Linked DNA regions of Homo sapiens: region 2 is linked to region 1. The links are contacts of gene promoters, found by promoter capture Hi-C in blood cells and fetal thymus (Javierre and others, 2016). All regions are on one chromosome and are shown on one strand. The core of a region is centred on a gene start or on the middle of the fragment in contact, and the rest is flanking DNA. Distances in the headings are between cores, read along the strand shown. Region 1 holds the start of LCE1F (late cornified envelope 1F). Region 2 overlaps PGLYRP3 (peptidoglycan recognition protein 3).

What was found. The method cuts DNA at HindIII sites, captures the fragments that hold promoters and counts their contacts. A CHiCAGO score of 5 or more calls a contact.
Region 2: a contact is called between a fragment that was not itself captured here and the fragment with the promoter of LCE1F in region 1, in 1 of 17 cell types (M2 macrophages). The highest score is 5.9, in M2 macrophages.

Annotation. Positions count from the first base shown.
Region 1 is chr1:152,773,736-152,777,501 of GRCh38, reverse strand. LCE1F (late cornified envelope 1F) reads right to left here and starts at 2,362. Exons shown (of 2, transcript NM_178354.3): 1 at 2,312-2,362; 2 at 478-1,152. The coding sequence starts at 1,130. The coding sequence ends at 774. The HindIII fragment of the contact is 9,364 bases long and covers 1-3,766 here.
Region 2 is chr1:153,301,353-153,304,974 of GRCh38, reverse strand. PGLYRP3 (peptidoglycan recognition protein 3) reads left to right here. Exons shown (of 8, transcript NM_052891.3): 4 at 1-28; 5 at 966-1,118; 6 at 2,368-2,566. Among named protein-coding and RNA genes, the nearest start is that of PGLYRP3, 9.8 kb to the left of the region's middle. The HindIII fragment of the contact is 166 bases long and covers 1,458-1,623 here.

The DNA of each region.
Region 1 (3,766 bases), core at 1,113-3,612:
CTGAGTCCAGACACACAGGGCCCCTCCTCTGAGCTCAGGGACCCCGGCACCCATGAGAAGGGCCCCTTTCCTAGAGGCCTGAGTTTCAATTCGTGGGCCACTGCTCCAAGTTTCTAAGTTTTGATAGTTTCAAGACACTCCCTTTACCTGCCATTGGTAGCATGGTGGCAATGACAGTTACCGCCTCCATGAACTCTTTTTGTCCTCTATTGGTCTTGTCAGTTCTCTGATGCCAAGTAAGCAAATTTTTATGTAAACTTCTGTCTATTAAAGTACATCTCATAATTCTCTTTCCTGACTTGACCCTGGCTGAGGCACTGAGGGGCGAGGGTCAGCTCTGGTGAGGACCAGGAGTTGAAGGAGTTAAGCAAGCCATGCTGCTTCAAGGCCCAGATAACCGGGTGATGGAGCTGAGATAAGACATGCTTATCCCTCTGTTCACATTTACAAGCAAGAGTAATGCAGTCTAGAAAAAGGTGATGAGCAGATTATTTGTTTTATTGTTTCATGCACAATGGAGATTGCCAAGGAAATCAGGGGAATGAGGCAAGGACTTCTATTTGGTATTCCCAGGCCAGGCGCACAGATGGAATCAGAGGTCAGAAGAGGAATTCTTGTGAGAGGGCAGATTTCTGGATTCTAGGTCGGAGGAATCTTCCAGGACAGAGTTTGAAATCTTTACTAAAATGTCCCAGCAACACAGTCAGTCCCAAGGAAGATGAAGTTGCCCCTTTCATGCCTCTAAATCTGCTCTTTTAGGCACAGGGTCCACTTCAGCAGCAGCCTCCAGAGTGCTGGCCACTGCCCCCTCCGCAGCAGCTGGAGCCCGCTGAGGGCTGGCTGCAGCAGTCAGAGCTCTGGGGTCTGTGGCGGTGGGACCTACGCCGTCTGTGGTGGCTCAGGCAACAGCCGCCTCCCCCAGAGCTGCAGCAGCCACCACCCCCAGAGCTGCAGCAGCCCCCAGAGCTGGAGCCACAGCAGCCTCCGGAGCTGACGCTGCAGCAGGAAGAGACAGGAGGGCACTTAGGGGGACACTTTGGGGGGCACTTCGGTGTGGGGCACTTGGGAGGGCACTTGGGAGTGCACTTGGGAGGGGGCTGGCACTGCTGCTGGCTCTGCTGGCAAGACATCTCGGTGGCGGGTGTTCAGGAGCTGAAGGAGGGTCAGACAGCAAGTTAGATGGAGGCAGAGGACACCCCTGCCTATTCTTGTCCTTTCTGCATTATTTCTAGATCCTTCATTTTGAAAGCCTTATATCAAACATAGGAAAATCACCTCTAATGTTTTTATCACTCTCAATGTTTACCAAGTGCTTTCATTCATGGATTCTCATTTCAAACCTTATTTGAGATGTTGTCATGCAATATATAATCTCCAAATATGTAAATAAAGTTTCTGCTCATTAAAAGCTCCTAAGTGTGGGAGAGAAGTCCAGGAAATAAATTGGCTCCGGGCCAGCATTCATTCTATCACATCACCAAGAATTCTGAAAATGTTCAATGTTGAGACCAGTTTAGAGATGAAAATCTCTTTAAGGAAAAATCAAAATAAATTTCTATTGGAAGAACTGATATATTTCAGTTTGCAGAAATAGAGAAAACTATAACCGCAAAGGATGTTGGAGTCAATTTGTTCCAACCAACTCAATATATAAATAAAGAAACTGAAGCCAAAAGAGGTAACTTCACTGGCCCAAAGTTATTCATTAACAGTCACATTTGTTCCGGGGTCCCCTGGTTCCCATCCTGGGCTCTGCCCTTTAGCACATCCTGCCTCCCCAGGCCTGTCCCCAGGCACTGTCACATGGCTTTTAAACTCCAGTGTGCACTCAGTTTTCCACTACAGATCTTCTTGTTGGCATCTAACAAGATCCACAGGTGTCTTTGATCCTTTCTTCCTCTAAGTAGCAGTGTTCTCAGCATATCTTTTCTAAAAGTGAGTATGTCTGTATTTCCAAAATTATATTCCCACTATGCAGCCCACTCTAGCAACATCCAGTGGCCAATGTGTTTATTCTCTAAAACCAGAGAAACACACTGAGCAACTGAAAACAATTTGGTTCCTCTAAATCTGTGTCATACAGCCCTTCAGATCTTACCAGTTCTTCTTAATCTCTCTCACTCCACCCCACCCCTCTACCTCCTCTTTCCAATTTTCTGCCCCCACCCCATTCCTTGCCAATCACAATTCCAGGCCCCTGAGGCCCTGCCTAGACTCTACTCCTGCCCTGGTCTGAGTATCCATCCCCTCCTTCCCTGGCCTGGGCATCCCTCTGTGGAAGCCCCTGCTCCTTTTTCCAGGGCACACTTACCAGGATCACAGGCAGCACAGGGTTCTTCAGCACCGCAGGAGGTGAGTGGATGGGATGCTCTGGCCCTGAGCCCTTTTATTCTGTCCTTGGGTGCTGCCTCCAGCGGTGAGACAGAGCCTGGGCATGAGAGGACCTGCCTCCCGACACCCACATAGGTCTTGTGACGAGTGGTGACTGGCAGTTCTGCATATACCGTCCTTCATTGGTGTTCAGGGGAGCTGCTGTCAGCTAGGAAAGAGCTTGGTGGAAATGGGGGCTTGTGGTGGGTGAAAATGGACATCATGGTTCCTGGAGTCCTCCGTGGCCTATTTCCTATGAAGATGGCTCTCTTCACAGTCTTGTAGTCACACTTATGAATTCTGCACAAACAACTCATTTTTCCTTCTATTCTAGATACTAATTTTCCATCTAGACCTTTGGGTCCATATAGCTTGGTTAAAAATCCACATGCCTGCATTATGGGGTTTGTCCATGTGCACATGGGCATGTGTGTGCATCATAGAAGTCGAGAAAAGAGGCCTTGGAGACCCTGGCAAAGTATTCAATATTTTTGGCCATTGGCTTTCTGATGTTTTAAATGAAGATAATAAGAGAAATATCTTTTCTGCAGGATTTACAAATTAATTAAGATAACAAAGGGGAAGTAGCTGAGATAGTATGTGGCATGTGGTTATAATTAGGAAATGGATGAATAGGTAGATAGATAGATAGATAGATAGATAGATAGATAGATAGAAAGAAAAATAGAGGCAAACCTGAGATTTTAATGGACATTGGGAATTTTTAAAGTCACAGGTGCCTTTTAAGTTAGGTGGCTCTTATTAAAACTAAAGGCCATTTTTTTTTCCTCCTACGTACCTCAGTGAATAGGGCTTTCTGAAGGTAGATCCAGAGTGGGTATAAGAAAAGAGGACTAAAGGATGTATATTGCCCCAAATTATAGCATAAAAGAATTTGCAGTTTCCTGAGGAAAAGCTGAAGGGATGAGGTAAAATAAAGATGAGAAGGGTGAAGAGAAGAGAACAGCCAATGAGGTGGCTTTGAACTGTGACTTGGAGTGGTGTAGTTGGTATAGACAAGAATAGACATAGTCAATATTTAATTTGAAATTATTGGCTTTGTTGCAATACACATTTCCTGGGTTTAATTTCCCAGTTTCCCATGCTCAAAACTAACCAAATGCAAAATCTAACAATAAAAAACCAATATTTGAAAAATAAATATGGTCAAAATTACATATAACATCAAAGAATTATTGGATGGTTTTAGCAGATTATAAGTTGCAGAAGAACAGATCGGTGAACTTGAAGAAATTGTTCAAACTGAACTGAAGAAAGGGAAAAATATTAAAAAAATGAACAGATGATCAGTGACCAGTGGAATAATATCAAACATTCTAGCACCCATGTATTTAGAGTTTCAGGAAGAGAACTACAAACCACTGCCCAAGGAAAT
Region 2 (3,622 bases), core at 291-2,790, 530 kb before region 1:
GGCATCGCCTTCTTTGGCAATAAGATAGGTAAGGGTCACTCCCTGCGGACCCTGTGCTGGAGAGTTGTGTACACTCTCTTCCTCCACTCCCAAGGGTCAACACTCATCTTTTTACCCTACATCATACTTACCTTCTCTGATGATCACCCTTCTCTTGAAATTCTTTTCTCCTTTGGATCCTGTGACATGCATACTTTTTGTCCTCTGCCTCTCTTTACTGGTCTGTACTCCTGTGATATTGCTGAAGCTTGCATGGGCGTTGCTTGAGCTCACGGTTATTGCTGTCACTTCTAAAGTCTGAGGTTGTCTGACATAGATGCTGTGACTGCCAGAGGCAGAGAAGCATGGCTCATCTCTTATTCCAGTTCCACTGGTAGAAAGTGACCAGAAGGCAGCAGGCAAGGAAATCTGGAGGTATAATTTGCAGGCTTCTAGCCCCTAGAAAAATAGAGAAAAGCACAGAACAGGGATGGAGCTGAGAAATAATACATATGGAACCAGCACCTGCCAGCATCCTCATTTGACAGCTGGGGCTAGGTAACAGCATTTCTCTCAGAGGTTTTCTGTGAGAGTTATGAGTTAACAGATATAAAAAGCCTACTGCACACCTGATCAGGGGAGCTATGAGTAAATTCTGGTTGCCTTTTCTCCTGTGCTAGTGCACACCTGACTTGGTCAGGTGGGCCTCCCTTTGCATGTATCCTTCACTGCCTTCCAGCTCTTCTGCCTAGAGATGGAGTGGATAAAGTCTTAGCTTGGCTCTTGGAAGAAGTTTTCAACCTTGGCTGCTAAGAGATCTAGGTAGCTTCTCGCCTCTTAGGCACTCTGTTCTGGCAACTGGACCAGTTTCCTCTCTTCCAATCCAGTTATTCAGGCTCAAGTGGTCATATCATCCTTTCTGCAGGTGTCTGGTCTAGGTGGAGTTTCTTACTGACATTTTTGTGCTCCCTGTCCTCCTCTTTAAGGCAGCAGTCCCAGCCCTGCTGCCTTATCAGCTGCAGAGGGTCTGATCTCCTATGCCATCCAGAAGGGTCACCTGTCGCCCAGGTATATTCAGCCACTTCTTCTGAAAGAAGAGACCTGCCTGGACCCTCAACATCCAGTGATGCCCAGGAAGGGTAAGACCCTCCATGTCACCTCACCCTCCTCCTCGTCACCACCTAGCCATGTTTGGAGTCATGTTTGGGAGTGCTTTTTCCTGTTAGACCCCATGGGATTCTGGGACTAAGAACATCTCATGCCTACTTTGAGATCTGGAAAATTCTGAGAGGGCATCTTCCTGGCCTCCTCTCCATCCCATCAGAATGAGATAGCCATAGACTTCTTCTTAAAACAAATACATATGTACACAGATTTTCAGTCAGTCAACAAATATTTACTGCATAGCAGGCACTGTTCTAAGTACTGAGCATACAGCTGTGAACAAAACAGATGAAACTCTTCACCTTCAGGAAGCTTGCACTTCAGTGAGAAGAGACAGAAAATGAACAAAATAACAAAGAAATGTATATGATGTTAGACGGCATAAAAGCTATGGAGAAAAATAGAGTGGGAATGGAGTGGGATTAACATGTATACATAGTTGTGTCTATTATGTGGGGACACGAAGGACATACATAAGCTTACATACCTTTCTAAATGCAAAAACCAGCCATGGCCACAGCACAGCCACAGCTCGGAGAAAAGCTTGTGCTCACAGATGATGCTGACATCAGAGTGCATATAACAAAAAGCTGAGTAATAAAAATAATGCACTATTTTGAAGTGAATAAGCAGCAACCTAAAACCAGTCAAATTAATAAGCACTCCTGCTAGTGGACCTTTTCTTGGGATCAATGATATTTTTAGAATTAGCTTTTTAAAACTGTAAATCTCAAATAAAATGTTTCTTGCTTTTGGACAGGCACTATCTTCAATAATGATAATTTCTTAATATTTGTACAGTTCTCTCTAGATTTCAAGTTGTTTCCAAATATGTGTGATCAGTTCGGAGAGTCCACTGACTTCCGCGTAGTAGCCCTGTTACATAAGCGCACATACCTGCATATATATTTGCAATGCATGGTCTTTTGAAGACAATGACCATGCCTCTGTATAACCCACAGCCCTTTCCCTTCTGCTTATACGCTGATTTCTATTGGTATCAGGCCTGTAGATTTTTGCCTCAGCCCCTTGGCTCCAGCCATCTGAATCAGAAACCTCCCAACTGGACTTCCCCAGAATCCCAAAGCTGATATTACATTAGGATGTGCCCGTGGGTGCTGGAGGCCTGGGAGAGGCTGAGGAATAATCCAGCCTGGAGTTGAGTGATTGCTCACAGAGAGGCAAAAAAAATTCCTACTTCCTTGGCTTTTCATTTTACCACAGTTTGCCCCAACATCATCAAACGATCTGCTTGGGAAGCCAGAGAGACACACTGCCCTAAAATGAACCTCCCAGCCAAATATGTCATCATCATCCACACCGCTGGCACAAGCTGCACTGTATCCACAGACTGCCAGACTGTCGTCCGAAACATACAGTCCTTTCACATGGACACACGGAACTTTTGTGACATTGGATATCAGTAAGTGGGATCAATGCCAAAAGAACCCTCTTTTTCTTCAGGATTGTAGGAAGGAAGGCTGTGGGAGGGAACTGATGTTTCCTGAGCCTCTCCTTTGGGCTGGGTGGTTTCCATAAGGCATCATATTTTATTTTTGCAAGATTGGGCTGAGGATCATTCAGAGCATAGCTAATGGTCAGTTACCTCGCTTGGACGTATCTCCACAAGTGGTTGGGAAGATTCTGAAAAGAAGGCATTAGAAGCCTAGTGATAAAGCAAGACTGTGATACCCTCAGGGAAGGCCATGAAGGGTTGTACCTTTTTAATGCAATCCCTTCTAACCTGTCAGAGACAAAGGCCTTGCTCACTCCTATCTCAGTCTGCCCAGCTCCAAACTTGCTCTCTCCGATGTTAGAATCCTGCTATTCCTCTGGTGTTACTTACCTCATTTTATAGATGTAGGAACTTTTAACCTCTCTGGGCCTCTTTTGTCTCATCTCTACAATAGGGACAATGCTTTATCTGTTTGAAGACAGGGAGCAAGATCAAAACATTTTCTTTTGGTACCTTTAATGCCAGGTCTGTAATAAAGAAACACATTAAACTAATGGAGTAGAAGAAGCTGCTTGGAAGATGTCTTGGAATTTTCAAAGGAAGGATTTAGGGCTAGAGTATAATGTATTTCAATTATTCATCTGTGACTTAATCACAACAAATCTTACAAAGTCTCAGGTAGATGTGCTTTTGCACATGTGTTGTTCTGGGCCTACTATCTCTCCTTTTAACTCCTGTTTTAAAAGCAGCCTTTGCAAACAGGAGGGAACTCTTGCTTCACTTTGCAGGATTTTCCATAGGCTTTCTATGGTTATTTAGCACAGGTAACAAGAAATTGACTAAAAATCTGGAAATTCCACATGGAAAATGCCAGAAGGTGAGGGAATGTTTGTTTTCCTCTTTCACTCAGTCTTTAGAGACTCCATCCCCGTTCCTTGACTTTTCAAAACCTGTTGCAATATCCTTCTGCTCCAGCCTCATGATATGTCACCTGTAACCCTGATATGGACTGTAATCAGGACA